4 separate regions of the Homo sapiens genome follow, and regions 2, 3 and 4 are each linked to region 1. The links are contacts of gene promoters, found by promoter capture Hi-C in blood cells and fetal thymus (Javierre and others, 2016). All regions are on one chromosome and are shown on one strand. Each heading gives the region's core, a stretch centred on a gene start or on the middle of the fragment in contact. The rest is flanking DNA. Distances are from core to core; before and after follow the strand shown.

Region 1 (4,919 bases), core at 813-3,312:
CTGTGAGACATAGTTTGTCATCTCCATTATATGAATGACAAAGTTGAGGGCTGAAACGTTAGTCACTTCTTAGAGTGGGGAAGGAGGAGGTTAGTGTGGGATAAAATAGAGAAGCTAGGTTTTTAAAACAAAGCATAGAGGAAAAAAATATTTAATGACTGTAGAGCTTGGCAACATCCCTTTCAATCCTTGTCCAATTTACCCTGTTTGAGCAAACCAGAGAATACTCATATTGTGCACCTTTTTCTTCCCCACAAAGCAGTCACCTTCCTGAAATGCAAGGGCCAAAGCACGCTGACTTACATCTCCTGCAAATGACTTGTATGCGCACAAAGCCAGAAACTCTTCACTTGGTTGTCTAGGACTGAATAAATCTTCTTCAGTCCTGAATTGGGCTTGCCTGGCTGGGATGGATAGTAGTTTTCCTTTCTAAAACACATATGGGAAAGCTCTGTAAAAATGGGGGAAAAAGTCTACAAAAACATGAAAAAGAGGCATTCATTCTTCAAGTGGTGCTCCCTGTCCTGCCCTCCCTCCGGACAGAAAGCTTTTCCAAAGAGTTTCCAACAGCATCGTACTTCATAGCTGTCAGCTTTAGAATCTGCAGATGCCTAAACTCAAAACCTCCTGACATTCTGGAATCAAAATTTGACATTAACTTCCAGCCCCGGGCTACTACCTTTTCTCCAACCTGTGCCAACACAACCTCCTGCTTGTAAAATACAGCCAAGTCTCAGACCTGCCAGCCTAGTGAGACACCCTCAGATTGGGTGAGATAAAAAGCGGGGGCTGGGGGCGGGCTGAGGAACAACACACAAGAAACAATCCAAGACTGGCTCAATGCCTCTTTTAACTTCCAGAGTGATGGCAGTTTTTGGCAATGACAATGATTATCCAAACTTCCAGTTATTAAGCAGTCATTGCTGATCTTTCTATACCTCATTTTCTCCTCAAAACGACAGCAGACGCTATTGTCCCCATTTTAGAGATGTGAAAACTGAGGATTAAGGAAGTGATGTATCTTTCTCAGGGTCATATGTATGGTGGTGGGGAGAATACCAAACACCTCTGGCTTCAAACCTAAGCTCTTATTCCTCTTACAACACTGATGGGTGAGAAGAACCCCTGTGTTCTTTCCAAAGTACACCAGGGGCAGCAGGGTTCCCATACCTGGGGGATGTTGTTGCTCAGATCTTTCTGTGATGAGAGGTGAGGAGGAGGAGGTGATTCTAGAGACATGTGGGACGCTGCTGGCTCTAGGCACCCCAGTAAAGCTGTTCTCCACCACTCTCTAGCTGCCTGTCAGTTATTCATCTGGCCCAGGAGCCACCTCCTCTCTTCTGTCCCCCAGCTCTCATTTCCAGGGTGAATATTTTGAGGACCAAATGAGGGAATGGGTACAAAACTCTTTGTAAACTTTATGTAAGTGCTGTTTAGATATAAACTTTTATATTCTCCCTGCACTCCTCTATCAAACTCCCTCTAACCCATCCCAGGGGCAGGCTATGAGCAAAGTCTGCCTTAAAACTCTACTGCCCTAACCCTCAAAATAAAAGATATATACAGGTGAATCAGCCAGACTAGAAGTAGGAGAGCAGTTGAAGAGAAAATTTTTACTTTTCCTCTGCAGAACAGCAGAAGATAACAACTTTACGAAAAGTTCCTTCCAAGTCTGACTATTCATAAAGTTAAAACAAACAAAATTACAAGACCAGAAAAGTCAAGGTGCATCTGATATAACCAATACACACTCCTTTTTTTTCCAGCGGTGGAAAAAAAAACCCCATATGTTTTGTAATTATAATATAAAATCACAACTCATTTGGTACCAGGAATGCAATCCTTACATCATAAGGATCTCTAGTGATGAGGGCAAAACAGACTTACCTTTCCGATGGGCGAGAGACCTAGGTCCTTGGAAGAAGTACCTGGAGTGTGGAGCTGCGGCGGTTCCCACGTGCGCGTTCCCCCGAGTTCCCCAGCAGCGCTGCCTTTGTGCCCACGGAGGCGGGGGCGTGTATCTGCGCGCGGGAGAGGCGGGTGACAGTAGGCAGGCTGTGGCCGGTGCAGCCAACTTTGGCTGGCTTATATAGCGAGCTCCTTCCTCTGTAATGGGACGCCTCGCCTCCAGACATCCTTTCCCACTTTTTCAGTTGGCGAATTAAAGGAACAGCCCTCCCAGCGGAACAGGGTTAGCTCATGAAAGACGCACTCACTCCTGGCTCTCGGCCAGGGAAGGAACCCATTTGCATACAATTTATGGCGAAAGTAGGAATTCCCGCCTGCCCGCCCCCGACCCCGAGTAGCTGTTAGTGAAATGTGATTTTTGCTTTGCTCCCCACACGGGTTTTCTAATTGTGAGACGGATGCCTGGGGAGCAAGAGGGAGTAGGATCCGCAGCCCTGGCTCCCCTCTTGTACTTGGTCAAGCTGGAAATGGGACCAGGGCTCGCCTGGGCTCTGGGCAGCAGCTGCTCAGTGGCACCTCGGAGCGAGTACAGGGACTGAGCCCAGTTCCTGGAAAGAGGAGATAAAGCCCTTCAAAAGCCTGGGGGGTTTCAGGTTTCTCTGGGCCAGCGGAGAGATAACCCAGGATTAGGTCTCAGCAGGTGGGGATCGTGCGGGACGCTCACATCAGCCCTGCTTTTCTTGTGTGGGAGCCAGCCTTGCCCAGCTGCTGGGAGGCATCTTTGTTCCAGCCCCAGTGTCCTGCAGGGCAGTAGCTTTTTGACATTGTTCATGCCCTGTGCCTGGTGTGGTCTTCTCAGCTGGGTCTCCAGGGGGAAGGATTTCTGAGGTTTTCTCTTAGTGCTGAAAGGCGTCCCCCACAGCCCTTTCTTTAAAGAAAAGCAATAATTTAAAAAGGTAACAACCTAATCCTTGAGCCATAAGCTGCGCCTTTGCTTTCCAGCCTGCCGTGGATTTCCTCCAAGCTCTGAGTCATCCGTTCGTTTGGTGGTTAGCATGCATTGAGTATCCTCAGGGCATACAGGGGCATTTAAGGGAGTGGAGAAGTAGCACTTCACCCGTGCCTAGAGACTTCTGAGCCTGCCGCAGAGCATAGTAGTTTGTGACAGTGAAGTAAAATGAAGCATTAAATGTAATTCAAAACGCAACTACCATTGAGCCCTCCCTTATTAAGTCTATAATCAGGTGCTGTGCAGGGTACTTTATGAACACTATTTTTGTTCACTATTTTTATTATATCCTTGTAACCAGTAAGTAGGATAGACACAAGTGTCTCTTTTTTACACAAGAAAACTGACGTTTAGAGAAGTAATGAAACTTTACCAAGGGAATACACCTGGGAAGTGTTTATATTACAACACTGGGCTCCAGAGATCTATTACACGTTACTGTTTAGGAATAGGGTATGATGATATTTAAACAATGTTTTATGCTGTATTAGATTGTTAACACCATTTGTGTAGAAATCACAGCCATATTTGAATATGGAAAATATATTTATTTGCTCCATAAAGCTAATTAGGAGAGATCTTTGATTTTTAAAAATTAACTACTAATAATGGAGGTCTCAATTATCCACTTATTTTCAATATTAAATGATATCATCCCCACAGTTATTATTGTTGCTGTGGGCCTCAGTTTCCCCATCTGAAAAAAAAAGCAAGACACGATTAGGTCATCCTACGGTTGCTTTGGCTGTAGTATTTTAGGATTCTCTGCTAAAGTGACCCTCCCAGACAGCAAGAAAGCCCATAAATAGTCATGTCATAAAACCGCTCATTTGAACTTTTGATCCATTTTGGCTGATTCAAATGTTGGTTGTTTGGGAAGTTTTAAATTCTGTGCTTTAGCCAAAGGATATTTCAGTAGCATGAAGCTGTGTCTCAACCAGCAGTGAGTGGTTCCTACTGAGTTAATCTCTTGGGTTAGGGATTAAAATATTAGAATAGTGTACAATATATGTCATATGGTATATAAACTATATTTGTATAGAACATATAATCAATATATTTATAATTCTATGTGAGTTTTTAAATAAGACAAGAGCGCATGCTAGAAAACTAGATAGATATGGCTTTTTCGGGGAATGTCTCAAACTCGAACTCCTCTCCCCAGTTCTTTAGGATTCTACAATCGTTGATTAGTGTCTACCACAAGTGGTATGGTCAATCACAGGGAAACTAAGCCAAATATGACCAGGCTGGCCCTCAAAGCAGGAAAAGGCTAGCAGAGGTGACAAACAAGAATACTATTATGGGTTAAGTTAACAACTATCATATAAGTGTATTCTGATAACATAGAGAAGAGATGATTTATGCATTTTTAGGAGAGGCTACTTGTAAAAGGCATTTTCTCCAAAAAGCTATGTGGCATCTTAAGCTTTTTGGCATTTGAGTAAGGAGTGCCCAGACGAGGACGTGTTTTCCATCCCTGTACTGTTCGCAGCCTCTGTTTCTGGTAGATGGGTCCATATGCACCAGGTACTCTACAATACCCAAACTTTGTTCATGCTAGGATGATGCCCTAGGCTCCTCACCTCCATGCCCTCACATCTATTTATCATCCATTTCTGATCTGACTTCACTATGGAGCTTCCTAAATGGAAGAAATCCATCTAGGAAGAGATGTTTCTATGCACTATGGCATTTGTAACTCTATTAGGACATCCATTGCATCTACATGGTATAATTACACATGTGCATGTCTAGATTTTCCTCCTAGATGCTAGGCTTCCTGAGGCTGGTGATCACACTTGCTTTTTCTGTACCTGGCATAGAGCCTTGGGTATCATAGAAGCTCAGTAAATGTTTATAGAATGAATGAAGTAATGGAGGAACAAATAAATGTTTGACATGTTGTGCTTTATAATTAAATTCTTCCTTTTACAACCATAGAACCTGAAAAGGAAACTGGATTATTGTGTCCAATGCTTCCATCGCACAGATCAGAAAG
Region 2 (4,689 bases), core at 1,336-3,835, 1.2 Mb before region 1:
TGCATTTGAGAAGAGCTGCTGCAAATAGTTCTCCTCTTCATGGTGTGTGTCTGTCCTACTAGATACAAGGCACCTGGCACATAGTAAGTGCTCAAATGAATAATTATCGTATCAAGTTTTCCCGACTCCCAGGGCAGGAGTTTTTCCTTGGTACCATACAGCTTTCAGCTGTGGTGACTGAGACCCCATGTCATTTTGGATCTAGTTTCTACTCTAAGGCCTAAGATCAGGCTTGGCTCTACTAGGCAGAGGCGGGGACCCGGCCTTGAGGCAGGTGCCCAGAAACCTTCACACAAGGATCGAGCCAGACAGACATCAAATCTGGGAGCATCTTTCCAGGTAACAAGGCCCCAACCACCTGGTGGATGAGGGGCAGGTGGACTAGGGGCTGCCTGCCCAGCACATATGCTCAGGGCTCACAGGACCCAACTCTGCCATGCTCTGCAAGCTGCCCCTACTCACCTTGGTGCCTGCTGCACACCAGCCTGGGCAGAGGCTGCCAAACCTCTGGCAGGGACATACTTACCAGGTTGGTGGGGAGAAAAATGGCCACTTTCAATTTCAATTTTTAAGGAATCTCCAACTTTTAGGGGTCTGGGAGGAAGTGGTTAGAAGACTCCTCTTTTTTTTTTTTTTTTGAGACGGAGTCCCACTCTGTCACCCAGGCTGGAGTGCAATGGCGTGGTCTCGGCTCACTGCAACCTCCGCCTCCCGGGTTCAAGCAATTCTCCTGCCTCAGCCTCCTGAGTACCTGGGACTACTGGCTGGTGTGTGCCACCACACCTGGCTAATTTTTGTATATTTAGTGGAGAAGGGGTTCACTATGTTGGCCAGGCTGGTCTCCAATTCCTGACCTCGTGATCTACCCGCCTTGGCCTCCCAAAAGGATTATTTGCGTGAGCCACCACTCCCGGCCAGAAGACTCCTTTTAACGTCTTGTGTTATGAGTGTTTGTTAAGGGGGGCAAGAGTTGTGTTTCTTAATTTCATGTCTCCCATATAGGGCTAAACTCCCAATTTAACTTATTAGGGAAAGGAGGTGTCTTCTACACAGTGCCTCCGTTTCCTAAAATTTTAAAAATAACTTTTTTGAGGATTGTAGGGAAAACATTTCTGTAACCTTTCCTGTCTCATATTGCTCCAGTTCTTTAAACATTACAAAAAAGAACATTTGATTTTTGAAGGTGGGGGCAGAGAGAAGATACCTGGTTACTCTTAATTTCCAATGCTTTTATTTTTGAAAAGTACCCTTGCAGTTTTCTTTTGGGGAGGGGCAAAGAAGGATTTCTGTTCACCTTGCATCTCATAGAAGAGCAATTCTTAACATTTTTATTCCAAAAATCAACCAGTTGTGGGAGATGTAGGATGGATCCAGTAATCCCTCCTTGTCTCTATAATAGGGCAGGTCCTTCATACTTTCAATTTTTAAAAAATCGGATTTTTTAGGAGAATAGGGAAGAGAATAGAAAAAAAAATCCCTTTTAAACTTTCCCAAGTCACAAGGAGGCAGTTGCTCAAGTTAAAAAAAAAAAAACAACAATAACAACAACAAAAAAACTGGCTATTTTGGGGTGTTGGAAAGAAATATCCTGGTTCACGTTTTATTTCACATGCAAGTTTCTCAAATTTTCCTTCTCTAAATCAACCTAACTGGGGGATATGGGGGTGGGGGGCGCTAATATCCCTTAACCTTTAACCCCTCTTGTCTTACTGTAGGACCAGTTTTTCAAACTTTTATTTAGAAATACATATATATATTTTAATTTGGCAAGGATAGGCAGAAACAGCCGCTTCACTGGCATTTCACATAAAAGCGGCTCCTCAAGTATTTATTTTAAAAATCAGTCTGGCTGGGGGGCTAGAGTCCCCTTAACCACTCTTGTCGGACATGGGGCCAGTCCTTCAAACTTTTATTTTATTACATTAGTTTTTTTGGGAGGAGTGGCAGGGCAATAGAATATTCCCAATAAGCCTTCCAGTCTTCCAGCAAGCCAGCTCTTGAAAACTTTTATTTCAAAAATCAATCTGGTTTTTTTTTGGCGGGGGGGTACAGCGGGGTACAGAGTTCCCATTAACCTCTTGCGTTCCGCCGAGAGCCGGCTCCCTGAACTTTTTTTCCAGCGTGAAAATGACATTTCCGAGGGGCTGGGGGACTGGGGGAGGGCAGAAGGGAGCCGGGGAGCGGGCGCGGGGGGCGCGGGGAGGGCAGGGCGCGGCGCGGGAAAGTTTGGGGGGGCGGGTGTGCCGCGGCACTGGGGCTGGCGGACGGGAGGGCGGGCGCGCCCCTGGACCGGCCGGCTTTGTGTGCCACGCGGAGGCCGGCAGCGCGGAGGCCGAGGCCGAGGCCCCGAGCTCGCGGGCCGCACGGCGAGGCCGGCCCGGGGGCGGGCAGGGCGGCGGGGGGCGGCGGCGGCCCCGCGAGGGGCGGCTCGGCGGCAGCGGCTGCCGCGGCGCGGCCGGTGCGGGCCGGGGGTGGGGGCGAGGGCCGGCGCCCCCCCCGCGCGCCCCCAGCGCCCCCGCCCCCCCGGCCTGAGCGGGGCGGGCGGAGGAGGGAGCGGCGGCGGCGGCGGCGGCGGCGGCGGCGGCATTGTGCGCGCACCAGCAGCCCGGCCCGGGAGGAGCAGGACGCGCCGGGGCCGCCTCCTCCCGCACGGACCCATGAACCAGCCGGGCGGCGCGGCGGCTCCGCAGGTACGACGGGGGGCCGGGGGCATGCACCGCGCGGGGGACCCCGGGGGGCCGGGGCCCGGGGCGCTGCGCCACTTCATTGCAAGATTTGCAAAATGCAAAGTGCCTGGGCACGTTTGCGGGCTTTTTGTGGGCGCAATCGGGAGGGTCGGGGTCCGGAGAGCACCCCCCCGGGCGCTGCGGGGTGCGAGGAGGGTGGGGGTGACGAGGGGGTCTTTTGGGGCCCCCACCCAGCGCCCCCTCCGGCCCCGGGCTCGGACCGGAGCCCAGAAAACAAAGCGGCGAGAGAACAGAGCAGCCATTTCAGTTTGGACAATTCACATTTTGCAAAAATGCAACCCCTTCCAGCTCTGCCCCCTCCCCCCCAAATTTGCAATTTTCCCCTGACCCTCTCTGCGCTCGGGGTCCCCGATGACCCCCCGGGAGGTCTTTCCCCCCAGGTCCCCCATTTTTGCAACAATCTTTTTTTTTAGGCCATATTTTCCTTTCTCAATTTTTTTTTTCTAATTTTTCTTCAAACGGTAGTTTTTTCCCATTAAAACGACGCCACCTAGAGGATACTATTTTGTAAATAAAAAAGAAATTAAAATTGAAAAGAAATATTTTTTATTTCTTATTTTTTCAAAAGTTTGCACTACCAGGCAGTGGAGGGGTAAGAGATTCTTTTTTTTTCTTTTTTCGGGTGAAAATTTTCACTTTGATCTTTCCAGAAGCATGGAGACAATTTTTATTTCTGAAGCCAAATCCAGATAATATGTAAATGAAAATTAAGCTGGAATTTGAATGAATTTAGTTCTTGGAGGGGAGAAAGCAAAAAACCTCCTAAAAGCAAAGTCAGTTTGGGTACCCAACTCATTTTAGTTTGAGAAAAAAACTAATTGGAATAAAGAAAGGAGGGAAATTGTTGAGTTTAGGGAAAACTGAGAGAATTGGCTTTATGAAGCAATTAGAAATTGTACTTCATTGTAATTTGGAACTTGTTTAGCTCAGCGGGCAAAAAAAGACTAATTTCTCTATATGGCAATATTTAAAGTTTTTCTATTTCCACGAACGAAGGATTTAAAAGAGAAAATAGAACCTAAAATGTTGGCTTTGGACACACCCAAAAATTGTAGTTTTTTTTTTTTAATTTTGCATTTACATTTTACTGCATTTAAATCCTAAGATTCTAAAGAAAACAGAAACTAGAAAAGTTACAGTGAAATCCTTTCTTTCTTTTTTTCTGTATTTGTTGGGTTTTGTGTGTGTGTGTGTTTTTTTTGTTTTGATGGAATAATTAAGACTGTTTTCTGATTTTGTTTCCTGAAAGGTCTAGGCATTTCTTTTTTGTTGTTGTTTTATCCAGAAAATGTCAGGAACCTTTTTTGAGCAATATTAAGTGGAAAAAATGTAAATTCATACATTATACAAATTGAGTAGCCCACAGATTTGTAGGAGAGACCGCCATTAAAATAAGATATGCATAATTAACATTATTATGAAAAAACTAACAGTGGATTCACAGAAGCTCATTTTTTATGACATGCAACTGAATCAATTGATGAAGACAAGGATTGAGGAATCCTTGGTAAGGAAGAAAATTTTCCCTTTTCTGTCTTGTTCACCCTTCCAATTTGAAAAATTTATTACTTAAAAAAAATTTAGATTGGTTTCAGGCCTCTTTGATTGTGATGTGGGGTTGGTAGTTTATCAATATTTGTTATTTTTCAAAAACCTGATTACTTTCAAAGGGGGAAAAATCCATTAGCCTTGATCATTTTGGGGGGTTTGTGACCAAAAAAAAAAAATGCACAAATTTTACTGACTTAACAAGAAAAAGATAAAAGAGGGATGGGCAAAAAGGAGATGAAAATTCTGATTCTTATCCATCTTCCTTGGTAGAACACTTACTTTGCTGAAGAAATGTGATATAACACCAACTCAGCTGGTTTTAGCAGCAACAAAATAAAGGAAAAATAATCAAAATACAAACAAAAGCCAAACCCAAGGTTTGCCTTTGGAA
Region 3 (5,026 bases), core at 1,170-3,669, 1.4 Mb after region 1:
AAAACAGCACCAGTGGGATTGAATGAGGTCCTGAGCCCATCCCATTCCCCAAACTCAGTTCTCCTCCATACTCGCACTTGCACACACACACAAAAAGCATATCCCCCTCCCCACTCCATCCCTGGAGGCAACAAGCCTCCAGAAGGGTGGGGAGAAGGCCCAAGCAAAGATGAGTCAGGTTTTCTGGTCATGCAAGCAACACCATTTAACCAGGCTGAGGTGAATCATTGAGAAGGAGGTGGGACCTGGGAGGTGGCAGAGAGAGGTAGATTTCCAAATGTGTGTGTGTGTGTGTATGTGTATGCATGCATGTATGTGAGAGAGAGAGACAGAGAGACAGGGACAGAGAGGCAGAGAGACATAGAGACACACAGAGAGAGACAGAGAGAGACACACACAAAAAACAAACACAGAGAGGAGACACACAACACACAGACACAAAGACACACACTCACACACAGAGAGAGGAGAGAGAGAGAGAAATAGAGAAAGAGACCAAGAGAGAACTACAGCCAGAAAATACTCAGAAAGACTGAAGCAGAAACTGAGAGCCACAGTGAGAGACAGAGGAGAAATGGAGAGAGAAAGAGAGAGACATAGATAAGAACACATAGGGCCAAAGACAGAGAACCAGAAATAAAAATGCAGAAAAAAGACAATCAGAGAGAAGTGGATAGAAGGTCAGAGACCTAGAAAGACAGATAGAAATAGAGAGACATAGACAGGAGTTGGTGAGGAGAGAGAGAGAGAAACAGAGAAAATCGGGGTCAGAAAGACCAAGACCAAGGCAAACAAGAAAAACAGAAGGAAGAAAGGAAAGAAGGAAGGAAGGAAGGAAGGAAGGAAGGAAGGAAGGAAGGAAGGAAGGAATGAATGAATGAATGAGGGAAGGAAGGAGAGAAGGAAGGAAGGAAGATGGAAGGAAAGAAAAAAGGAAGGAGGTAGAAAAGAAGAAGAGAATGAAGGAGGGAGGGAGAGAGGGAAGGAAGGAAGATGAAAGGAAAGAAAAAAGAGAGGAAGGAAAGAAGAAGGGAAGGAAGGAGGAAAGGAGGGAGGGAGGGAAGAAAGATGGAAGGAAAGAAAAAAAGGAAGGAGGAAGAAAAGAAGGGAAGGAAGGAGAGAGGGAGGGAGAGAGGGAAGGAAGGAAGATGAAAGGAAAGAAAAAAGGAGGAAGGAAAGAAGAAGGGAAGGAAGAAAGGAAGGAAGGAAGGAGGGAGGAAGGGAAGGAAGATGGAAGAAAAGAAAAAAGGAAGGAGAAAGGAAAGAAGGGAAGGAAGTAAGGAAAGAAGAAAGGAGAAAGGAAGGAAGAAGGAAGAAGGAGGGAGGAAGGAAGGAAGGAAGGGCACGGCAGGACCAGCTAGAAGGGCATCTTCTGGAGATGGATGCCCTTGAGTGACCAGGGAAGCTTTACTTCTGGTCTCACCGCTACTCGGGGCAGATGATCTGGGAGGAGGAGGGGGGGAGAGTGAGAGGGTGACTGGCATTTCCATTCAGCTCCCCTCATCTATCCCTCCCACCCACATATAGAGGTTTTCACTCTATTAAAATGACTCCCTTGCTTCCTCATTTATGTTAAAATTTTCCTTGAAATAAAGAAAAGGAAACAAGGTCACCCTTCAATCCACAATGAAAACTATAAAAGCGTTTTTAGGCTTGGAAAATTTAGCTGGTCAGTTTTTCCTACTGTTTAATAACTGCCTTGGGTTACACTGAATGAGTAAACATGTTTTACAAGCTTCTAATTCATACCTAACCCTATGAGTTCACAGCTTTACATAATATATACACACACATATACTATATATACACACATGCACACATACATACTGCAATGTAAAATATAAACACACATACATACTTAATATATATATGAGTGTGTTCGTGTGGTGTAAGTAATCTTTCCAATTTGTGCAGCTCATTAGGGCTTACAAAGCACGCTCTTTCCTCATTTAATCCTCACGATAATCCTGTGAGGTAGGCAGTTTAGGATTATCATCCCCAGTTTACAGGTACCTGTGGTTAAGGTAGAGAGACCAAGAACCCACAGGTCTCTAAGGCATCACAGTCCATATCACAGTTCTGCTCTCCATAGTCCCAAAGCTGACTTCATGAACTTGGGTAGTGCAGTGCCCACTTCTGGACCTGCAAGGACCCAAAACCATGGGGATCCTGAGGCATCATCTGTTTCAGGGCTTCATTGTACAGACAGGAAAACTAAAGCTCAGACTATTACTGCTAGCCTATAGGGTGCCTCTGTGCAAATTGGAAAAACAATAGAAAAATAAAAATCATCTCTTTCTTAAGATACTTCCCTCCCTTGTTCCAATATTCTGATTTGTTAGAACAAGACACTTGATCAATGATTAATACATGTTTATGATGTCTACAATTGGAATGGTGAGCTTTGGAATGTGGTAGCATTGTGAGCAGCAAAACCTGTGCGACTGCATCTGACATCGCCAGGATGGGGGCCCAACCAAGGTGAGGGCAAAGAGGACGGTAAGGGAGAAAGAAAGAAAGAAGGGAAGGTAAGATGGGAGAGACAGCACCTACTTTCTGAGGTCTAAGAAGAAAACCCATTTTACTTAAAGGACATTGAGATAATAATAATAACTAGTGTTTATTAAGCTCTTAATCTTTTCTGATACTTACAGTAACCCTGTGAGAGTGTTTCATATTGCTAACTACTGCTTGTATTTCTATCTTACACTCTCAAGTAATAATAATATTATTCAGAATAACAGTGACAATTGATATAACTTAAGCATTCACAATGTTAGATACTATGCCTAGTATTTCATGTACTGCATCTCATTTCAGCTTAATAACAATATGCCAGCCTGGGCGACATAGTAAGACCTCATCTCTACAAAAGTACAAAAATTAACTGGGTGTTGTATCGTGCATCTGTAGCTCCAGCTACTCAGGAAGCTGAGGTGGGAGGATCACTTGAGCCTGGGAAGTCAAGGCTGCAGTGAGCCAAGATAGTACCACTGCCCTCTAGCCTGGATGACCAAGTGAAATCCTGTCTCAAAAAAAAAAAAAAAAAAACCCAAAACAACAACAACAAAAAACACAAGTTAGCTTATTTCCCCAAATTTACAAATGAGTATATCAAGATTCAGAGAGATCCACTAACTTGCCTAAGGTCACTTGGTTAAATTGCGCAACTGAGATTTGACTATTATGAGGGAAGAGTAAAGGTCAGACACACTTTCACATCCTCTAAAAGTGACTGAAATGCTTTACATTCTCAATAATTACTAACTATGCTAGCACATCAGAGAACCCTACTTTGCATATGGGGCATCAATATCTCTGACTTCTCATCTCGTGTGCTTTTAGTATCTGATAGTCTACTCATTCCTTTAATCGCTTTGAGGCTACTGATGAATGGAACCATCTAGATCATGAATCCAGGGAGTCTCTGCTCTGTGGAAACAATGTTGGTTCCCGCTCAGCTTTTCCCTGGTGCCCAGCTCGCCTCCCTGTTTCCACCTCTCCCTTACTGGATACCCAATCAATGCAAATGGATCTGAGTAGTCATTAGAATTTATTTTTTAAGAAAAGCAAGGCAAAACCAAACCAAAACCAGAAGTCTGCCACAATATGCAAAGAACCACCTTTGGATTCCAATAAAACTGGGCTTCCTACCTTTAGCATCCTCTTGTGTAAGACAGGAATAAGAAGTATTACCATTTTAATAGAATGTTTCAAGGATTCAATGTGTAAAATATCTGACCCAGTGCTTCTCCTTAATGTATAAAATGTATTCCAAAACAAGAAGTGGCGATGGGTCGGGGGCACTCATGTTGCACTAGAACTTTACAGTGTACCTGGTATTTTCATATCCATCAACTCCTAGGCAATCCAAAGCCTCACTACTGCTCCAGCTAGAGCGCCTTCCCTCTCCCTTTGCTGACTACACTTCAATGACTGTGCCCTCCTTGGTGCTCCTGAGGATGCTCCAGGGGCTTTGCTATTGCTACATCCTCAGTCTGGAGCAGTCTACATTCAGCTAGCCACATGGTTCACTTCCTCCCACTTTCCGGTCTCTGCTCAAACATCACACCCTCAAAGAGGTTTGTCCTGATCACTGTAACTAAATGGTATGCCCCCAACCTCTATCCTCATACCCTATTTTTCTTTCAAACACATAGTACACTTTGACTCTGTATTGCACATCTATTACTTTACCATCATTGCCTCCCAACCCTCTGTACCGGGAACATAAGCTCCATGATAGGAGCTTGTTCAGTGCCTTCTCCTCAGCTTCTGGAATAGTGTTCGGTATGTAGTAGGTGTTCAATAAGTGGTTACTGAATGACTTAACTCATAGTTGTTCATGAAACTCTGAGAGGCTGGCAAGGCTGGCATTCTGATGCACACTTTACATGTGAATAAACTGAGGCCCAAGGAGGTGAAGAAAATTTTCTAAAGTCCTTCAGCTGGTGGATAACAGGAGTGGGACTAGCAAACTGAGCTGCCAGACTCAAATCCAAAGCTCTTTGTATTTCACCAACTTGTATTTCCTATTATTGCTCCCCTTCACCTCCAAGCATGCCCTGGGAAATGGGTGTTATTTGGGATTTTACCTCTTAGGCGGGAAGCCCCAGAGATGGAGGAGTAAGAAGGAGTGACTTCACATGTTCTCCACCCAGACATAGGCCTTGCTAGAGTCCCATGAACAAACTAGAGCTCTGGCCCTCATCTGGGAGCAGGCAGACCAGCCACTAGCAGCCAAAAGGAGGAAGGGATTGATAAATAGAGAGAATGTGGGAGGAGGGCAGGAAGGGGATTGCTGTAGCCATCTCCAACCCCCCAAAAAGTCAGGCAGGAGAAGTCCAATTACCCTTTCAGAGTAATTTCCGCTCTATAAAGTGATGACTTACTTCACCGCCCAGAGGTTTCCATTTGCCAACTGGGGATAGACAAGTCCTGCAGGGGAGGGAGCGACTTACTGACTCTTCAGCTCCCTGGAGGGGAAAGGAACCTGGGCTTGGACGTGGGCTGTGCTCTGACTTGC
Region 4 (4,531 bases), core at 1,060-3,559, 1.0 Mb before region 1:
TGCTGGGAGGGTCCTGGAAAGCCACATCAAGAGTTTGAATCTTACTCCCAGGGCATTGGGGAGTCATGGAAGGGTCTCGAGCAGATGTGAGTTTTCAAAAGGTCTTTCTGGTTACTGGGTGAAGAGGGGATGGGGTGGAAGGGTGGAGGTCAGAGGTGAGGAAAGAGTAGAGAGGTTGTGGCAGACAACCAGGAAAGAAAGGGAGGTGGCTTGGACCAGGATGGTGGCAGTGGAGAGGGGAGAAGTGAACAGGTTGGGGGGGATTTAGGAGGAGAATGGGCAGGACTTGATGATGGGTGACAGGGGAGAGAGGAGCCCAGTTCCCAGGTTGGGTCCCTGGGGGGCTGAAGTACCCACACTGGGCTAAGGAATGCCCAAGGGGGAGGAGCAGTTTGCAGAACAGGCACAGTGCTGGGACACTGCCCTCGAGGAATAGATAGGACACCTGAAAAGGGCCGTCCTGGTGGAGGAGCGTAGAGGGATCTGGGGTTCAGCGGGAAGGTCCTGACTGGAAGCAGAGATCTGCAACTTCCCAGGATGGACGGGGCTGGGAAGGTTGTGGGTCTCTGGGTCTCTCTCAGCTTTCCAGCCCCACCCTAGTGCTCACCGCCAACGAGTGCTGGTCATGCTGATCTCCGCCTCTGTAGCGCCCTCTCCCAGCACCAGCGTGCTCACTGTCATCCTGTCCATGATCTTCTTCAGCCAGGGGCAGGTGGAACCGATGGCCAGGTTGTACCACTTCCCATAGATCTAGGAGGCAGGTGAGCTCTGGGGGTCTGCATCAGTCTCAGACCTCAAAGCAGACCTGGCTGACATCTGCTCCCCACCCTCCACCTCCTCCTCTTCCTCCTCCTTCTCCTCAAAATGACTTATCCTTTTAAGGGATAATGTCTTACAACTAATCAGAGGCCACACACCTTCAAGGGAGGCCAGATCCCTAAGAGTGGCGTTTCAGGCATCACAGCGAACCCAGGAAGCAGGTGTGCGGCTGGGGTCCCAACCTGCCCTGCAGAAGGGCTAACTCTCTCAAGATGTGGGATCTGTCCATAGCTCCATCAACCACTGCTCCCCAAGAGCTGGAGTCCTGTCTTTTACTCCTCCAATGATGGGGTGCTCCCCACCTTGCAAGGCAGCCCACAGCCCCATGTTAGGAATTATTTCAAAAGTATAATGAACATGATGGGGTCATTCAGGATAGGCCTGCTTCCTCTTCCTCCTGAAAGTGCACGGGACAGCTGAAGGAGCCCTCAGGCTCCTACGGAACAGGCCAATGTGCCCCACACCCTTTGCGTCCCAGACTGCCACAGGGACCTGCTCCTCATTGCCCCTCTGCCACGACCTTTCCTTGTCCCTAAAAGTAAACAAAACCCACATGACACCACAGCTAGAAGGTTCTGAGACCCTTCATACAGACATGGAGACAGCCCCAGGTGGGCAAGGGTATTCTCAAAGCCACCCCGGGATTTAGGGCAGAGTGGGGGCTGGAAGGCAGCTCTGGCACTCCACACTCACAGGAGAGTGTCCTGCCCCAGTCCAGGTCTCTCCTTGTGCCCAAGCCTCTGAATGTCTCCCAACCCTAATCTCTGTCCTGCTTCACCTCTTCCCATAAGCCCCACATGCCCAACCCAAAAGCTGCTGGCCACATGCCCACGCTGTGCCACCCCAGGTGTCTGTCCACAGTCAGGCCAGGATGTGGGCAGGGGACACAGGAAGAGCTAAGGGAAAGATGCCACAGAGAGAGGGGAGTCATTAGAGAAGGAAGGGCTGGGAGGTCTGGGCAAAGCTAGGTGTCTGCACGGGGGCTGCAGGGCAGTGGCAGGCAGGACAAAGCCTTCTCTGGAGCAGGTTCCCATTAACACAAGGGTTCCCCTTGGAGCCCACGAGGACAGTGCAGAAGGTGAGGATGTTTGACTCATAGAATGTCAGCCAAGAGACCCACGGAATGGCAGGGGATAGAGCTGTACCTTCAAAGGATCCCATAATCCCAGATGATCTGAGTGGAAGCCTGAGACCCCGAGACAGGCCGCACTTGCCCAGCAGGGCCCATCTGCCTGGACTCCCCATCACCACATCCACCCTACCACAGAGAGCGGCAGCCTTACCCGAGAGATATTGAAGTTTTCCTGCACTTGGATGTTGTCGGGCGGCGTTGGCACAGGGCCAGCGCTCACCGCCAGGCAGGCGCTCAGCAGCAAGAGCAGGGCCCCGAGGCTCCTCATGGCTATGGGCTCCTCTGCCTTGGTATATCCCACAGGCTCGGTCTAGCAACAGAAGGGCCACCGCCTCCCTGCAACAGGGCAGCTGTGAACTGAGGCTGGGGAAGGGGCCTGTGGCTTGTAGTTGACCTCAGTGTTTGCCCTGCTCAGCTGGGGCCAATTACAGCCCCAAGGACAGCTCCAATCGATCCCTGTAGCCTGGCTGGGGTCAGCAGTACCAAGAGGCCGGGATGGCTGCTTCAGAAGAGGCATTGGCCAAGCACAATAGGGCCCTGGAGCACCAGGATTGGGCTCCGCCCCCCAAAAGTCCCCCACAGAGGGCATGCGAGGATGGGGAGCGACCTGGCCTTTCTGCTGAGTCATGCCATCTGGACCTCACAGCTCTGTGAGCCAGCAGGTCAAGCCTGATTGGGCCCATTTCTCACAGGAAAAAACTGAGGCCCAAGGAGAGGAAGTGACTTGCCAGAGACCTCAGGGAAGTCTATGGGCAGAGCCAAGACCAGAACCCAGGTATCCTGTCTCCAGAGTTCCTTCTCCAGCCCCCAGGCTTGCCCTAGCCTTTGCAAATAATAGAGACATTAACAATGATGACTGTTACGAGCTTCCGTTCACTGAGCACCTGCTATGTGCTGGCTGTGTACCAGGCACTTTACACGTGCCACAGGTGTCCAGTAAATCCCCACAACAAGCTTACGAAGTAGGTGCTATTTGTCCCCTTTACAGGCAGAGGAGTTGAGTCTCCAAGAAGTGAAGTGACTTGCCCAGAATCCCTCAGCCGGGAGTGGAGTAGCTGGGAAAGGCGTGGTAGAGACCATGGACGTGGGAGCCAGGCAGCCTACAGTGGCACTCACTGCTGTGTGACCTTGGGCAAGTCACTTTACCTTTCAGTGCCTTGGTTTCCTCATCTGTAAATGGGGATAATAATAGTTCCTAGCTCCTAGCATTGTTGAGTGAGCACCTGCAATGCGCTAGGACAGTACCCAGCATAGAGTAAGAGCTGAGTGTTTGTGGTGGGTTGAACAGTGCCCCCTCCAGAATCCATGTGCACCCCGAACCGCAGAATGAACCTGATTTGCAGATGTGATTAGTTAGATGAGGTTGAACTGGATGACAGGGGTTTTAAATCCAATGACCGGTATCTTTATAAGAGAATGGTGAGGGAGACTCAGACACAGGGACACAGAGAGAAGCACGGGGAAGATGTGGCGTGACGCCGAAGGCAGAGATGGGAGGGATGCAGTGACACGTCAAAAATCACCAAGGATTGATGGCAGCCACCAAAAGCTAGCAAAAGGCAAGGAAGGACTTTTCCCCAGAATCTTCAAAGGGAACATGGCTCTGCTGAAAATTTGGTCTCAGGTGTCTGACCTCCAGTGCTGAGAGAAGACACATTTCCTAGCAGCCCTAGGAAACTAATACAGTAGTTATTAAACTTAAGGTTTTATTTATTTATTTATTATTTTGAGACGGAGTTTCACTCTTGTCGCCCAGGCTGGAGTGCAGTGGTGCGATCTCGGCTCACTGCAACCTCCACATTCTGGGCTGAAGTGATTCTTGTGCCTCAGCCTCCCGAGTAGCTGAGATTACAGGTGCCCACCACCATGCCTGGCTAATTTTTGTATTTTTAGTAGAGACAGCGTTTCACCATATTGGCCAGACTGGTCTCTAACTCCTGACCTCAGGTGATCCTCTCACCTCAGCCTCCCAAAGTGCTGGGATTACAGGCGTAAGCCACTGCGCTCAGCCTAAATTTAAGATTTTAAATGAGAATTTTTTAAAACCCAGGTCCGTTGTCTGTGAGCTCACACTCTTGCCAGCAATACCAAAGGCCTCTCTATGAATTTCCCTTCTCCAGTGGTTAAATCTACTGTCCTTACTTCCTCCCTGCTCTTGGCATGGAACATTCCATACTCTCAGCCACCTCTCTGTTAGAGCTGGGAATGACCCCTTCGGGCAGGCAGTCCCAAGATTAAGACCCCTGCTTATGTGAGAATCAAAGGATTCCCCCATGTAGTCAGTGCAGAAACAAATGGTGTATCATGTCCCTTCTGTAAGATTCAGTCAGTACATCCCTCTTTCACTGGTATCCAGAACAAGTGTGCTTCTATTCATAAATGTGTTTCCTTTGCTCCGTCACCCTAACCTTGGCCAGTGATTATATTCCCTTCTTGCTTTGGCTGCTAGGAAGCTCAAAGCCATGATGTAAGTTTAAGCACAGTTACTGTCTTGGTTTAGCTTTCTGGGACAGTTATCTTCGTGTTCCTTGTGTTCACAAAGTTTCTCAATCTTTGATGTTTTAGTTAATGATGGTAATG

Evidence for each region. The method cuts DNA at HindIII sites, captures the fragments that hold promoters and counts their contacts. A CHiCAGO score of 5 or more calls a contact.
Region 2: a contact is called between the fragment with the promoter of ZNF618 here and the fragment with the promoter of TNC in region 1, in 1 of 17 cell types (neutrophils). The highest score is 6.0, in neutrophils.
Region 3: the fragment with the promoter of ASTN2-AS1 here is called in contact with the fragment with the promoter of TNC in region 1 in 4 of 17 cell types (M1 macrophages, activated CD4 T cells, naive CD8 T cells and 1 more); the score reaches 6.8 in M1 macrophages.
Region 4: a contact is called between the fragment with the promoter of AMBP here and the fragment with the promoter of TNC in region 1, in 7 of 17 cell types (total CD8 T cells, non-activated CD4 T cells, neutrophils and 4 more). The highest score is 9.5, in total CD8 T cells.

What each region holds. Positions count from the first base shown.
Region 1 is chr9:115,116,095-115,121,013 of GRCh38, forward strand. TNC (tenascin C) reads right to left here and starts at 2,063. Exons shown (of 28, transcript NM_002160.4): 1 at 1,888-2,063. It overlaps LOC124902255 (a long non-coding RNA gene), which reads left to right. Exons shown (of 3, transcript XR_007061746.1): 3 at 4,862-4,919. LOC101928748 (a long non-coding RNA gene) reads right to left here. Exons shown (of 6, transcript NR_110950.1): 6 at 3,445-3,614. RefSeq lists an enhancer at 2,342-3,161. The HindIII fragment of the contact is 3,799 bases long and covers 546-4,344 here.
Region 2 is chr9:113,873,724-113,878,412 of GRCh38, forward strand. It overlaps ZNF618 (zinc finger protein 618), which reads left to right and starts at 2,586. Exons shown (of 15, transcript NM_001318042.2): 1 at 2,586-2,690. The coding sequence starts at 2,658. RefSeq lists enhancers at 9-509, 510-1,010. The HindIII fragment of the contact is 22,796 bases long and covers 1-4,689 here.
Region 3 is chr9:116,501,864-116,506,889 of GRCh38, forward strand. It overlaps ASTN2-AS1 (ASTN2 antisense RNA 1), which reads left to right and starts at 2,420. Exons shown (of 12, transcript NR_033973.1): 1 at 2,420-2,481. All of the region lies in intron 19 of ASTN2 (astrotactin 2), which reads right to left. RefSeq lists an enhancer at 3,620-3,789. The HindIII fragment of the contact is 9,663 bases long and covers 1,734-5,026 here.
Region 4 is chr9:114,075,991-114,080,521 of GRCh38, forward strand. AMBP (alpha-1-microglobulin/bikunin precursor) reads right to left here and starts at 2,310. Exons shown (of 10, transcript NM_001633.4): 1 at 2,103-2,310; 2 at 608-750. The coding sequence starts at 2,219. It overlaps LOC107987120 (a long non-coding RNA gene), which reads right to left. Exons shown (of 3, transcript XR_001746905.1): 3 at 3,950-4,531. The HindIII fragment of the contact is 5,279 bases long and covers 1-2,903 here.